Regions from separate parts of the Homo sapiens genome. Here all the other regions are linked to region 4. The links are contacts of gene promoters, found by promoter capture Hi-C in blood cells and fetal thymus (Javierre and others, 2016). All regions are on one chromosome and are shown on one strand. Each heading gives the region's core, a stretch centred on a gene start or on the middle of the fragment in contact. The rest is flanking DNA. Distances are from core to core; before and after follow the strand shown.

Region 1 (2,700 bases), core at 11-2,510, 660 kb after region 4:
ATCAGGTAATCTGCTTTCTTTTTTTTTGAGATGGAGTCTTGCTCTGTCGCCCAGGCTGGCGTGCAGTGGCCATCTCAGCTCACTGCAACCTCTGCCTCCCAGGTTCAAGCGATTCTCCTGCCTCAGCCTCCCGAGTAGCTGGGATTACAGGCGCACACCACCATGCCTGGCAAATTTTTGTATTTTTAGTAGAGACAGGGTTTCACCATGTTGGCCAGGCTGGTCTCAAACTCCTGACCTCAAGTGATCCACCCCCCTCAGCCTCCCAAAGTGTTGGGATTACAGGTGTGAGCCACCATGCCTGGCCAGTCTTCTGCTTTTAAGAATGATTGTTGTAAATCGCCAGCAAAAGTAGTATAAACATTATTAACTAGAGGGGTGGGAAAACTTGGAAACTCCAAGATTTGGAGTACATTTCTATGGCACTGGCAAGAAAAAAAAAAAAAGTAAGTAGTTTTCTTTAAACCAGAAAGTGTGGTTACTTGAAAACAGGAAATACTAAAAACAAACTTATTTAAGTGTCTGTGGAATACTTCAGAGTATAAAGATGTAAAGGCAAGTCAACAGAAAAGTGTTTTTTATATGATAAGTGTATGGATTACAAAAACACTGGAGTACTTAATGTATTCATCATATTGCTTAGCAATCACTAACAAGTGACTCTTTTTTTCTTCTAGCTTGCCAACAACATTTGCAACTTTGGATATTGATGGTGTAAGAAAAATAATCTTTGCACTACCTGGTAAGAATAACAAATTGTTTCCTTTCCTTTTTCTGGAAAAATAGCCAAAATTTTTTGGACTTCTCATGTGACCACCTGGTTTGAAATCTGAAAGACCTGGGCTCAAGTCTCAGCTTTTCTAAACGACCAATCACTTAACCTCTCTAGGAAGTTTCTTCACCTATAAAATAAGACTAATATCTACTTCATAGGGTTGGTGTGAAAGTCAGATTAGATAATATATATCAAAGCACATTCCAAATCCTATCAAAGCACATTCCAAATCCTAAGATGATCATCAAGTGTTAGCTGTCACTAGATCTTTCTGGAGCACCTGCTTTTTCCTTACAGGAAATTGGTCGAAGTTAGCAGCCGAATACCTCTCATAACCAGAAGTATTGTGCTCTAGAGGCCAAAATGCCTTGAGTCACCCAAGCAAATACCAAATCAAAAAATACAAAGCTGCCTCTGGTCCTTGCCAGATTTGGGCTGGTTGAGGGGAGGGGGAAGAGGAAAGGCCAGGCTACTGGAACTAGTGCTTCTCAGCCAAATCCTACTCATCATCAGTCTACAACTTCCCCACTCCCACCCTTGTCCCAACGTGAGCAGAAACTCACATGTTCAGATTATAGAAAGAGCAAAGCAGGTTCAGTTCACGATGATTTTCAAATTCAAATTTTTTGTGATTTGGGGTTATATAAAGTCATGGTGAATCTTGATAAATTTTAAAATAATTTATTGTGCATCTTTTTTTTAACTTTAAAATTATCTTCTGATCATTCTGTTCAGTTCTCTATTTTTTGGCACAGATTCCTTTAGAAAATAACCTATTTCTTTAAGATTTACAAATCTCATGGCTTTTGGATCTTTGTTTGTTTTTTAGGTCAAGTATATCTCAAAATGGAAATGTAAAGAAATGGAAGCAGGCAGAAAAATGTTAAACTTTGAAAACATTTTAAGCCCCTATCTATAAGCATAAAAGAGATTAGATTTCTATCATGTAGAAAATTTTCAGAGAGAGAACATTTAAGTAAAATAGTCCTCAGAATGTATCTGTAACATGAAACGCCTTAGGACCTTTCATAATTCCTTGGATGCTCTGATAGCCATTGTATAAAGAAATGTGCTCCTTTTCCTAGCTTCATTTAGCCTGGAAGAGCCTCTTTTGTCTACGGAAGATATGACTTAACCTACAGACCATCAGTGATATTATAACAAAGAATGTTACTGTGGGAGCCTATTTCACCATTATGCCAAAGATGTTATAAAATTAAAACCTGTTTTCAAATTCCTACTTTTAATTTGAAACCTTATCTGCTCAGCCTGAGTGAACCAACAGAGGGCAGCAGAAACTCACATGTTCAGATTGTAGAATGTGCAAAGTGGTTCCATTTACAAGGATTTTCTTTCTTGTTTTTGTTGTTATTGGTTTTGTTTGTTTTTTGTGTTTTGTGTTTTTTGTTTGTTTGTTTGTTTGTTTTTGAGACAAGGTCTGGCTCTGTCGCCCAGGCTGGAGTGCAGCAGCGCGATCTCAGCTCACTGCAACCTCTGCCTCCTAGGCTCAAGCCGTTCTCCCACCTCAGCCTCCCAGGTAGCTGGGACTATAGGCGCTTGCTACCACCCCTGGCTAATTTTTGTATTTTTTGTAGAGACGGGGTTTCACCATGTTGCCCGGGCTGGTCTCAACTTCTGAGCTCAAGCCATCCACCTGTCTCAGCGTCCCAAAGTTTTGGGATTACAGGCATGAGCCACCATGCGCAGCTTTACAAGGATTTTCAATTTCAAAAGTGTATTTCTGCTTTCCTGTAGGCCATGCGTTTAAAGCCATCCCTAATCTCGACAAGTTTTAAATCAAAGTTTTGTATATTTACTTGTTTTTTTGGACATTTTTAACATTGCTAGAGTGACACATGCTCACTATTGTAAAAATCAGAAAATATAGATAAGCATAAAAAAGTGTTAACCATAATCCCCCAACA
Region 2 (2,831 bases), core at 254-2,753, 800 kb after region 4:
CAGATATACAAAATAAGTGTTATCTGAAACCCCTATATAATGACTTGTTGAATTATGATGTCATGTATGGCAATAATAAGCTGTGTCAGAAGTGCTCTCTTGAGTTCTTAAATTTCTTTTGTATCACACATAGCAATCAGTGGCTGCTCTTTCAGTAGCAGAGGGCAAGAGTCTTGGCACCTCTGTATTTCACTTCCTGAGTAACTGGCACATTTGATCTAGGAAATGCATACATTATTCAAACGTACAGTTTCCTTCTCTCGGCCTTTTTAAAAAAAGGAAGGATTGGATTTCCCAGACTAGTTTGTAAAACTTTAGATTATTCTATACTATAATAATATGTAGGGAGGGCATAATAGACTTTTATCTGAATGGGACTTTTTCATTTAGTCTAATGCCATAATCTAACAAGGAGTGTATTTAAATGAAGAAGGATCACATCGCTTATTAGTTACAGAATATGTACCAGAAAATTAACAGATTATTGATTGTTTAATACATATAAGCTATTATTATGATTATGTACTCTGTGCCAGGCACTACAGAGATAACTGTGTTGTAAAGAAAAGTTGAGAACCACTGCTATCAAATACATTGCTTTCCCATTATAGGTATAAAAATGTATTAATAAAGACATTTATTTCTTGGTGGATGTGGGGAAAGGAGAAATTCTAGTGTTGTGTGGAGATACTTAAAAACTTGCTTGGTGCTATAAAGGCTTTCCTTGACTCACTTTCACTATTTTCTCTTCTACAATGAACTTTAAGAGTTAAAGATAAATCTGCGATAGTAAGAGATACAGAAATAAAAATTACAAAGAAAAATATTTTGGTAGCAGAGATGTGGAATCAACCTAAATGCCCATCGATGATAGATTCGATAAAGAAAATGTGGTATATATACACCATGGAATACGAATGCAGCCATAAAAAAATGAGATCATATCCTTTGCAGGGACATGGATGGAGTTGGAGGCCATTGTCCTTAGCAAACTAACACAGGAACAGAAAACCAAAAACCACATGTTCTCTTACATGTGGGAGCTAAATGATGAGAACACGTGGACACATAAAGGGGAACAACACACACTAGGGTCTTTCAGAGGGTAGAGGGCAGGGGGAGGGAGAGGATCAGGAAAAGTAACTAATGGGTACTAGGCTTAATACCTGGGTGATGAAATAATCTGTACAACAAACCCCCAACACACAAGTTTACCTATGTAACAAACCTGCAGTTGGATCCCTGAACTTAACAGTTTAAAAAAAAAAAAAGTCAGTGTAAAAAGTATAAAAGCCAACCTAATACTTAGACAATAGAAAAGGGAAAAACCAAACTTCCTTTTTTTTTTTTTTCTTTTTTTTCTCTTTGATTTTGAGGGCGTCACCAATGTGATAGCCTTACCTTCATGAGTACTAACCTTTCCATTAAGCTAATCCCAAAGTTGTCTCCCAAGTACACTGTCCAGGTGGTTGTGGCAAATTTATACTTTTCCAAAGGAGTGTCCATTGAGCAAGTGGAATATAGATCCTGAGTTTTAGATCAGCACTCTCCAAATATTTTTTTCTTTTTCTTTTTTTTTTTTTTTTGGAGACAGAGTTTCACTCTGTTGTCCAGGCTGGAGTGCAATGGTGCCATCTTGGCTCACTGCAACCTCCGCCTCCTGGGTTCAAGTGATTCTCCCGCCTCAGCCTCCCAAGTAGCTGGGATTACAGCTACCCTGTACCGTGTACAAGTACCATCTACTGTGCCACCAGCTAATTTTGTTTTATACCTTTATCAATTAAAAAACATTGAACATGTCCCCTCCCATATTGTATATATATGTACTACTCTACTTACTATCCCAAATTACAATATAGGACAAGTTTTATTAATAAGTAATTCTAATAGCCTTCTTGATTGGTTGAAAAACAATATTTTGGAACATTGGATCCCTAAAAAACATGTAAATAAACTGATGAATCATTATCCCTGTACCCTATCCCCATTTCATCATTACGACTTCAAATGTGAACAGCTTATAGATATTAAAAAAAGGAAAAAGAAAATGTTGGGCTGGAAGATAATTGCGTCCAAACAGTTCTACAATTTGAAATGTAAACAGAAGATTTTGTTTTGTTCAGAAGCCAAATACTGTTTTGATCAGATATACTGTTCTGATATTATTATAGCATTATGAGGCCCTGGACCTTTCCTATGAGGGTCAGCTTATCTCCTTCATTTTAAAGGGGCTTTTTTTGTTGTATGAGAAACAAAATAATTTTGACACTAGCAGGAAAGATTGGTGGAGATAACTTCTAGAACTGGTAAGAATTAATCAGTGGAATATATGGATAAAAGTCATATAGTATCTGTTAAGGCAATACCCAGACTTTAACTCATTCAAATCATTAATTTTTCAGATGTGAAATAAATTTTCCTTAGGAAAAATTAATAAGAGCCTTTTCCTCTTAATTTTAGGAAAGTAAGAGCTTTTTCTCTTAATTTTAGGGTATATTTTAGATGGGACTAGAGAAACTTGTCACATAAGTAAAGCATGTTCTCTTCCCAGCCTACACAAAGAGGGGCCCTGTTCCAAGCCAGTTAAATTAGAATAGTTAAGGGATGAGAACTGCATAGGCAAGAGTACATGGAAAAGCATCTCTGGGTGATTTTGTTGGCCTATGGCAATGGTCATAAATGTAGATATTCCCTCCTCACGGGTCTTAATTTCTCTCAGGGTAGTAGTTCCCTAAGATTGCTGTACCTAATAATTACCCAAGGAACCTGATTAAAATTCAGAGTCTGAGAGTCTGAGGTGCGGCATGAGAATTCATCATTTTAATAAACAT
Region 3 (2,700 bases), core at 186-2,685, 720 kb after region 4:
TCTCTTATGTATTTCTTATTTCTTTCCACCTTTTTCTCCCATGTTTTCCCACTTTTTTCTTACTTAGGCTTGTATAGTTTTTCAGTTTTTCCCCTGATTAGCATTTCTTTCCCCATTTTCACTCTCCTCTAAATCACCTGTTCCCCTTCCATACACTTTTACTCTCACTTAACACCCTGTACCCCAAGAAAAGCAAAGACTGGCTGAATCTTAATACCTCATTTTATTAAATGTAATTGGAGTACAAATTAAAAATGAGTCCGTAATTCTAATTTATATTATAGGCGGAAATCAGAATAATAACTGCTCCCCATAGTAGTAAAACAAATTCCTGGCATTATTAAGCTCATCTGATTCACATTCACCCAGCAATGCTAGTTAGGGACCATGATCTCAAATTCATCTCTCAAACCTCTCAGCAGTTTGCGAAAGTTAAATTTTTTTTCTCCTTTTCTGCATAAGGTTTTGGGATAAAGTGGCACTTCAAATGCACTGTTTTTATGACAACTTTATGCATGAAATAGGGTCCAGGTTAAATTTGTCTCTCTGGATCTGAGTTCATTTCTCTCTTTTCTTTTTTTTTTTTTTTTTGAGACAGAGTCTTACTCTGTCGCCCAGGCTGGAGCGCAGTGGCACGATCTCAGCTCACTGCAACCTCCGCCTCCCAGGTTCAAGCGATTCTCTTGCCTCAGTCTCCCGAGTAGCTGGGACTACAGATGCGTGCCACTATGCCTAGCTAATTGTTTTTGTATTTTTAGTAGAGATGGGGTTTCATTGTGTTAGCCAGGATGGTCTCAATCTCCTGACCTCATGATCCGCCCACCTCAGCCTCCCAAAGTGCCAGGATTACAGACATGAGCCACTGTGCCCGGCCCCATTTCTCTACTTTCTTAGCTTTAAGTTTTTACCTTTCTAGGCTTTATTCTCCTTAACTTTTAAATTTTTTTTTTTACAGTGAGCCCAAATTATGGGCTTATCTCTGATTCTTTGATATTTTTTCCAAGATGAAAAGAGACAAAGGATAGAGATTCAAGAAAAGAAGAGAAAGAAAAATCACATAAAATATTGGGAGTTTCCTTCCTACCCTTACCCATCTTTCTTTTCCATGTTCCTCTTAAATATTACAAACCAAATTCCTTGGAATCCTAAGCAGCCAGGTTCATTCTTTGTTTATAAAACCCAGGCTTAATAAAAAAGGAGGGAGCCCTCTAAAAGGGAACCTGCTTGTGAAATTCAACAATAAGCTCCATTGCAAAGAATAAATACATTTTTGATGAGGTGGTTAGAACATAATCTGAATTTAATATTCAAAATAAGCTCTTTCTCCTTCTGTGCCTTTTTTTTCCTCCTGCTTTTGGCTTTTTTTCTTTCTCACTTCCTCTCTATTGATCTCTCCTTTACTTTCCTTATTCTTTTTCTTTTTTCCCTCTAGTTCTCTCCCCTCATATCAAATCTCCTTCTAATTTCCTCAAACTTGTGCCTCATCTGTCTGCCCCTTTCTCAAGGGAATGAATGTGAGGAAAGAAAAGTAAAACAGAAAAAGACAAAGTTGATGGAAAAACATGTAAGACAAACTAAAGGTAACTTTTTAATTATAAGTCTCTATAGGAATACATGATAGCTATGATACTGTCACACAAAAAAGTTGTTAATAAGTGGGATCTTTTAACATTAAATCTTATTCTACTGTAGTAACAATATAAGTGGAATGAAATGTTAGGGGTTTGTTGTGGTTTCTGCTCTAGAATCCATCATGGGTCAAAAGATAACATCAGCACAGGGAGGAGGAGAGAGGGCTTCAGGTGAGGCACTGGAAGAGAATTATGTGCTGCACTACCATAGCGATTCTTCTCATTTCTGTACTTCTTTGTAACCTTATCATGCTCTTTCCCAACCTGCTTTTTAGATCAGCCAATACAATCAAGACCTCTTTTTTTTCATAGCAAAATGATACAGATATTCGTAGAGTGCCTGCAGGGCTGTCATGTACAGTTATGTAGCTTGTACACACCATACACACTGTAGTTTATGTGCAATTCATAATCTGCACAGCTGTATAGGGTGGCCCTGGCCTACTGTATTCTAAGTTTGTTCGAAACACCAGCTCTGCAGTGCGTTGCTGAAAAATGAAACTTCTCTCAGCCATGATAACAACACCCAGTAGCACAGAAAGAGTGGAAGCAATGCAATTTTAGGGCCATTGTGTCTTCTGTTGCCTCCTTCATAAAGCTAATGCTGTGAGTGTGTGTGTGTGTGTGTGTGTGTGTGTGTGTGTGTGCGCGCGCGCGCGTGCGCATGCGCGTGCATGCTCATAAGGGCTGAGTTCACAGTATTGAAGGGGGGAGGTTGGTGGACCACGGGTGGCCTGGGCAGTAACCCCTTGCCCATCTTGGCAGGGCCTTGCTGATGGAATCAAGGTGCTCACTCTTCTGTCCACCCTTCTGTCACTCTGCCACCAAAGCCAGCTTAGCACTTGAGCATTTTGTTTATTTACTTGTTTATTTATTTTTATTTTTATTTTTTTGAGACTGAATCTTGCTCTGTCGCCCAGGCTGGAGTGCAGTGGCGCAATCTTGGCTCACTGCAACCTCTGCCTCCTGGGTTCAAGTGGTTCTCATGCCTCAGCCTCCTGGGTAGCTGGGATTACAGACAAGCACCACCACAACCAGCTAGTTTTTTTTGTTTTGTTTTTTTGAGACG
Region 4 (2,700 bases), core at 140-2,639:
GGCGGGTCACGAGGTCAAGATCTTGATCGAGACTATCCTGGCCAACATGGTGAAACCCCGTCTCTACTAATAATACAAAAATTAGCTGGGTGTCGTGGCACGCGCCTGTAGTTCCAGCTACTCGGGAGGCTGACGCAGGAGAATCGCTTGAACCTGGGAGGCAGAGGTTGCAAGTGAGCCGAGATCGCGCCACTGCACTGGAGCCTGGCGACAGAGCGAGACTCCGGATCAAAAAAAACCAAAACCAAAACCAAAAAAAAACCTATCAAAGTGACTTTGAAATTTGTGTATAAACACTGATATACATCTTTTAATACTTTGCTTTTCACTTTTATGCCTCCAGGTTACTACAGCTAAGAAGAGAAAACATATACATATGAGTGTGTGTACACACACACACACGCATATAACTTTTTAAAATTCAGAAGTTGAAAGGTCCAGAACGATAGTAAGAAACTAACGTAGAATAGCCACAGGTGATTAATAACACGTTTCATGAAAGGCACATGGAAATAAATGGCAACAAAAGCTACTTTCATGGTAATCTCACATCCCACGAATACTGAAATGAAAATCGCCGCGGCAATGGACTGTGGTTCAGGTGGAACACGTTCTCGTTCGCTAAGGAGATTGATGCTTTTCATCTAAAAGCAGCGCTCATGGCGAAGAGGCTTAAGGCCACAAAACCGTGGGACAGCAGGAGGAAGAGAAGCCAGGTATCTCCACTCCAGCTGCCCTGCCTCAGACTCCTCAGTTTCGCACGTGAGGATCGTCTTGCAGGCACTGACTGGAGATGGAATCCTAAAGCATAGGTGAAGCGGAAATCCTCCTTCAGGGAGAGCCCACTGAGGAAGCCAGCGGCTAGCACGAGGCAGGACAGGATACCTCCCTCTTCGCCCACGGCGGCCTCTCTGTCATAGTAGCCACCGTTCTGCCACTCATGCAGCTTTCTAAGACACCTCTCGGTTCCCCAGCGCTTTCAGTGGGGCGGCCGGCCATTCCCGAGGGTTGCAAGAGGAGGCCCGGGGTGCTGAGCCAGCCTCGCTGCCCCCGCGTAGAAAGCCGGCCCGCCGGCGAGAGCCAGCCTAAGGCGCGGACAACCAACGAGGTGTCAGGCTCGGCAGGGGATTGCTTCTGTCTGGGGCCCGGCCGAGGTTGCGTTCGTGCCTCGCGCGCACACGCTCCGCGTTCACTCAGCCAATCCGGTGCTACTCGCGCGCCCAGGAGCGATCCGCGGTCCTACTCAGGCTGGGCCGGCTCCTTCCCGCTCCCAATACTCAGCACCCGAGCTCTCACTCCTCCCCTCACTCTCCACGAGTTCCACGCCTAGGGGTGTAGCTCCGCCCTTGTCCCCGAGTCCGCCCCCGCAACCTCCAGAGCGTGTGCTATCCTTTCCTCTCAGTCCTGCCATCTAGCTGCCTTGGGTCTCGCGCTCCGCAGAGCGTTCCGACACTCTCCGGCCTCGTTCTGCCGCCTCCGCGCGCTCTCCCCGTGCGGCCACCGCGCCCCCCAAGCTTGCCTCCTTCTTGCCGGACTTGGGGCCGCGCGCCCTGACTCCTTCCCCTCCCGCGGACCCGCGCACTCCCGGCGCGGCCTCTCCCCCACGCAGGCCACCGTGCACTCTGTGGCCTCCCCCTCCTTCCCCGCTCTCCTCGCGCTTCTCTGGCTCCCTAGCTGTCGCGCTCTCCTCGGCGAGCGCGCTCCCGGCCCGCGCGCTCCGGGCTCCGGTTTCTCCCGGCTCCTGTCAGTGCGGTGACTGCGCTGGGAAACATGGCGACCGAGGGAATGATCCTTACTAACCACGACCATCAAATCCGTGTCGGAGTCCTTACAGGTAACCGGGGGAGGAGGTCTGGGACCTATGAGGCTGCTGTCCCTGCATTGCCTTAGGCTTTTCGCCTGTGGTGGCCCTTCTCTGCGGCCTCGGGAGGAGGGAAGGCTGAAGAAGGGAACCGCGGGGGTGCATTTTACAACCGCTGAGAACCGCCGGAGATTGGGGGTGTTCCCGCGGGTCCCCTCCCCCAGGCCCCAGGAGCCGGGGTCGACCCCGTGGGATGTTAGGCCCCAGCGCCTTCGGAAGCAAAGTCCTGGGCCCCCGGGGACCGAGGGGCCGGTGCGGAGGGCGCTGCGGGGCTCCGCGCTGTCGGTGCAGGCGGCGGGATCCCGGCTCCGCAGTCTGAAGCATGCCGCTCTCGGCTGGCCTGGGCGCATCCTCCGCTAGTGCTCTTCAGAGAGAGGGGGGAATCCCATCTCCACCCCCTTCCTCTCCTTCCCTTCCCCCCACCTGGGCGGCCCCACGCCAGTATCTGTGCTTGCCTGGACGAGACTCAGGTGTTAATCAGATGAAACTGCTCCTCCTCGGGTTGTCCCTCGCGGGCCGGGCGTCCCCTCAGCCACCCATGGGGCACCCTTCGCCTCCCTCGGGGGATGGGGGATCGGCTTGCGTCCGGACCTCGGAAAGTGTCTGCCTTCTGCCTTTCCGCGCAAAAGGCCCTCTGTCTGCCTCGTCGTTTCCTTAGCGAGGACGGGCTGCAGCCTGCTGCCGGGGATCCAGCTTTTTACTTGAGAGGGCAGGATTCCCCTACTCGGGCTCCTCTCCCCCTCCTTTCTGGGAACCCCCACCCCGGTAGAGCGTCCCGAGGCTGGTGAGGAGCGCACTTTTCCCGGGTCGCGTTTCCCTCCCTCGCGAAAGCCGTGTGT
Region 5 (2,700 bases), core at 20-2,519, 680 kb after region 4:
GAGGGCTAATTGCTCACGGACCTCACTTTGACAAAGTGCCACAAATTCAGACTTACAATCTCCAAATGAAGTTATACATACAGTTTTATATTTTGTGCATCTTTAAAAGCATTTTAAAGACGCTTTTGAAGGTAAATATTTTAAATATACCATTATTTTTATTTCCTTCTTTTGGTATTTCTTCTCTTTTTAATGTATCAGTAGCCTCAAAAAATGGACGTGAGATAATACCAAAGTTTAATCAAGGTACCGCAGAATTAAATTGATATCATCAACAGTTAAGAGATGAGATCAGATCTATGCAAAAATATTTTCTGGCCCTTGGGCAGGAAGAACAGGAACATGGCAAGTTGTGATCATGCAATAAGTATGCTCAATGAAGAAATCTTACTCAGTGGGACTATAGGTATGACCAGAGGAAGAATTTGTCCATCCAAAAGATGGCACTCAACATAGAATAGGCGAAACAGAGCATCTGAGACAATAACAGGGGAACCACTCGGACAAGTGCAGAAAGAGACTCAGCCAATCAAGTGCATTGAACCACCACCAGAGCCTAATATCATTAAATATTCATGCTATACAGCCCTCGGCTCAGTTTCTTTTCCTTCCTTCCTTCCTTCCTTCCTTCCTTCTTCCTTTCTTTTTCTTTTTCTTTCTTTCTTTCTTTTCTTTCTTTTTCTTTCTTTTTCTTTCTTTCAATAGAAATGGGGTATCACTGTGTTGCCCAGGTTGGTCTCAAACTCTTGGGCTCAAACAATCCTCCTGCCTTGCTCTTCCAAAGTGCTGGGATTGCAGGCATGAGCCACTGCGCCCGGCCTCAGCTCTGTTTCTAAGCAGTTTCCCTCTAAAAATGCTATATTCTTTTAACGCTTTTCTTCACAGAGGCTCAAAGTGCCTTAAATATGTTTAAGTCTCTGAAACTTGGGATATAGGGAAAGTGAATAATAAATTATCAATTGTATGATCAATGATGTAAAGTCTGATATTTTTCCCGTGGTTATACTATTGCTAAATTGACTTTTCTCTCCAAGAAATCCTCTGAAAACTTCACACCACCACCTGAATGCCCACTCCTGAGCGGTCCGGTCAGGGCTCCATGGGAATGCTGACCACACTTCCTCTCAGGGGCAGACCTGCACGGCTGCTCCTCCCCAGTGCCGTTCTTCTCTTACTGCAGAGACTATGTCAGCACGTTATGATTATGATGCAGCAGCAACAGAACAATGCCCAGAGCAGCCTGGCCTGTGCTTCTTTTACTAAGTGGTTAGTTGCCTGCTGAGTAGACATAAACACCTGCTAAAGAAATGTGAAAAGAGTGGAAACGTGCTATTTGGAGGTTATTTTCCTAGTCGACATCCAGGAGATCTCCAGAGATCTATTTCAGCCCCACCTGTTGGTAAGTGACTGTCTCATTACTGCAACTTGGGTTTGAAACTGAAGGAGAAGGAAATGAATAGTTCAATTAATTCTGGTAATTCGAGGGCAGAATGTCTATTTTTTTCCATCTTCCTCTTCTCCTTCTAGTTTCATTTCTTCTACCTCAACCAGAACAAGCTGAAAAGCCGAGAGACTTAACACCTGGTGACTGCTTTTCTTTTTCTTAGAAATAATTTCATTGAGAGTTTGAGTTTGAAATGAAAGCATGTTTTCTGGATTTTTTTTAATTTTTTTTTTTTTTTTTTTTTGAGACAGAGTCTCGCTTTGTCACCCAGGCTGGAGTGCAATGGCACGATCTTGGCTCACCACAACCTCTGCCTCCTGGGTTCAAGTGATTCTCCTGCCTCAGCCTCCCGAGTAGCTGGGATTACAAGTGTGTGCCATCACGCCCAGCTAATTTTGTATTTTTTTTTTAAGTAGAGACAGGGTTATAGGCATCGCCCATCATGCCCAGCTAATTTTTTTTTTTTTTTTTTTTGTATTTTTGTAGAGACAGGGTTTCACATGTTGGCCAGGCTGGTCTTTAACTCCTGACCTCAGGTGATCTACCTGCCTCAGCCTCCCAAAATGCTGGGATTACAGGCGTGAGCCACTGTGCCCAGCCTTTTGTTCTTTTCTTTTTTTTTTTTTTGAGACACAGTTTCACTCTGTTGCCCAGGCTGGAGTGCAGTGGCACGATCTCGACCCACTGCAACCTCCACCTCCCAGGTTCAAGCCATTCTCGTGCCTCAGCCTCCCAAGTAGCTGGGACTACAGGTACACACCACCATGCCTGGCTAATTTTTGTAATATTAGTAGAGACAGGGTTTCGCCATTTGGCCAGGCTGGTCTCGAACTCCTGACCTCAAGAGATCCACCTGCCTTGGCCTCCCAAAGTTCTGGGATTACAGGCGTGAGCCGTTGTGCCCGGCCTGTTTTGAAATTTTGATTTTTCAGACTGTTATCCCAATTTTTTCTTCCATAAGAAAAAATTCTCAAAGACTGAGAATTGAGTAAATTTTGGGGGAAACAGCCCTTTTTAATTACTCAAATATTTCAAAGATTCAGAACACAAGGCTTTCTCTTCAAAGCTGAAAGGTTGGGCATGGGGATATCATTTTCAAGAGATAGAAGCCACAACAGTTAGACTCCTGCAAAGGTGCAACCAGAACTGCAACCTAGAATTGTGCTGGACCTAGCCTAAAAATATGTTTATTAGTATAGTAAGAATCTTGGGAAAAATCACCCAGGTAAATGCCACACTTCAAAGTGCTGGGAATA

Evidence for each region. The method cuts DNA at HindIII sites, captures the fragments that hold promoters and counts their contacts. A CHiCAGO score of 5 or more calls a contact.
Region 1: a fragment that was not itself captured here is called in contact with the fragment with the promoter of GPHN in region 4 in 4 of 17 cell types (M2 macrophages, M1 macrophages, M0 macrophages and 1 more); the score reaches 8.5 in M2 macrophages.
Region 2: a fragment that was not itself captured here is called in contact with the fragment with the promoter of GPHN in region 4 in 2 of 17 cell types (naive B cells and total B cells); the score reaches 6.7 in naive B cells.
Region 3: a contact is called between a fragment that was not itself captured here and the fragment with the promoter of GPHN in region 4, in 10 of 17 cell types (total B cells, naive B cells, M1 macrophages and 7 more). The highest score is 9.3, in total B cells.
Region 5: a contact is called between the fragment with the promoter of GARIN2 here and the fragment with the promoter of GPHN in region 4, in 10 of 17 cell types (M0 macrophages, naive CD8 T cells, monocytes and 7 more). The highest score is 11.8, in M0 macrophages.

The regions. Positions count from the first base shown.
Region 1 is chr14:67,164,485-67,167,184 of GRCh38, forward strand. GPHN (gephyrin) reads left to right here. Exons shown (of 23, transcript NM_020806.5): 20 at 678-742. All of the region lies in intron 1 of LOC105370538 (a long non-coding RNA gene), which reads right to left. Among named protein-coding and RNA genes, the nearest start is that of GARIN2, 24 kb to the right of the region's middle. The HindIII fragment of the contact is 5,581 bases long and covers 1-2,700 here.
Region 2 is chr14:67,306,977-67,309,807 of GRCh38, forward strand. All of the region lies in intron 8 of PALS1 (protein associated with LIN7 1, MAGUK p55 family member), which reads left to right. It also overlaps a transcript of GPHN not described here. Among named protein-coding and RNA genes, the nearest start is that of ATP6V1D, 51 kb to the right of the region's middle. The HindIII fragment of the contact is 7,273 bases long and covers 1-2,831 here.
Region 3 is chr14:67,223,686-67,226,385 of GRCh38, forward strand. GARIN2 (golgi associated RAB2 interactor family member 2) reads left to right here. Exons shown (of 8, transcript NM_001395907.1): 8 at 68-255. The coding sequence ends at 132. It also overlaps a transcript of GPHN not described here. Among named protein-coding and RNA genes, the nearest start is that of PALS1, 16 kb to the right of the region's middle. The HindIII fragment of the contact is 7,967 bases long and covers 1-2,700 here.
Region 4 is chr14:66,506,758-66,509,457 of GRCh38, forward strand. It overlaps GPHN (gephyrin), which reads left to right and starts at 1,390. Exons shown (of 23, transcript NM_020806.5): 1 at 1,390-1,834. The coding sequence starts at 1,771. RefSeq lists silencers at 1,435-1,624, 1,975-2,124 and enhancers at 2,215-2,374, 2,625-2,674. The HindIII fragment of the contact is 4,318 bases long and covers 1-1,512 here.
Region 5 is chr14:67,188,171-67,190,870 of GRCh38, forward strand. GARIN2 (golgi associated RAB2 interactor family member 2) reads left to right here and starts at 1,270. Exons shown (of 8, transcript NM_001395907.1): 1 at 1,270-1,399. It overlaps LOC105370538 (a long non-coding RNA gene), which reads right to left and starts at 1,194. Exons shown (of 5, transcript XR_007064215.1): 1 at 1,063-1,194. It also overlaps a transcript of GPHN not described here. The HindIII fragment of the contact is 22,924 bases long and covers 1-2,700 here.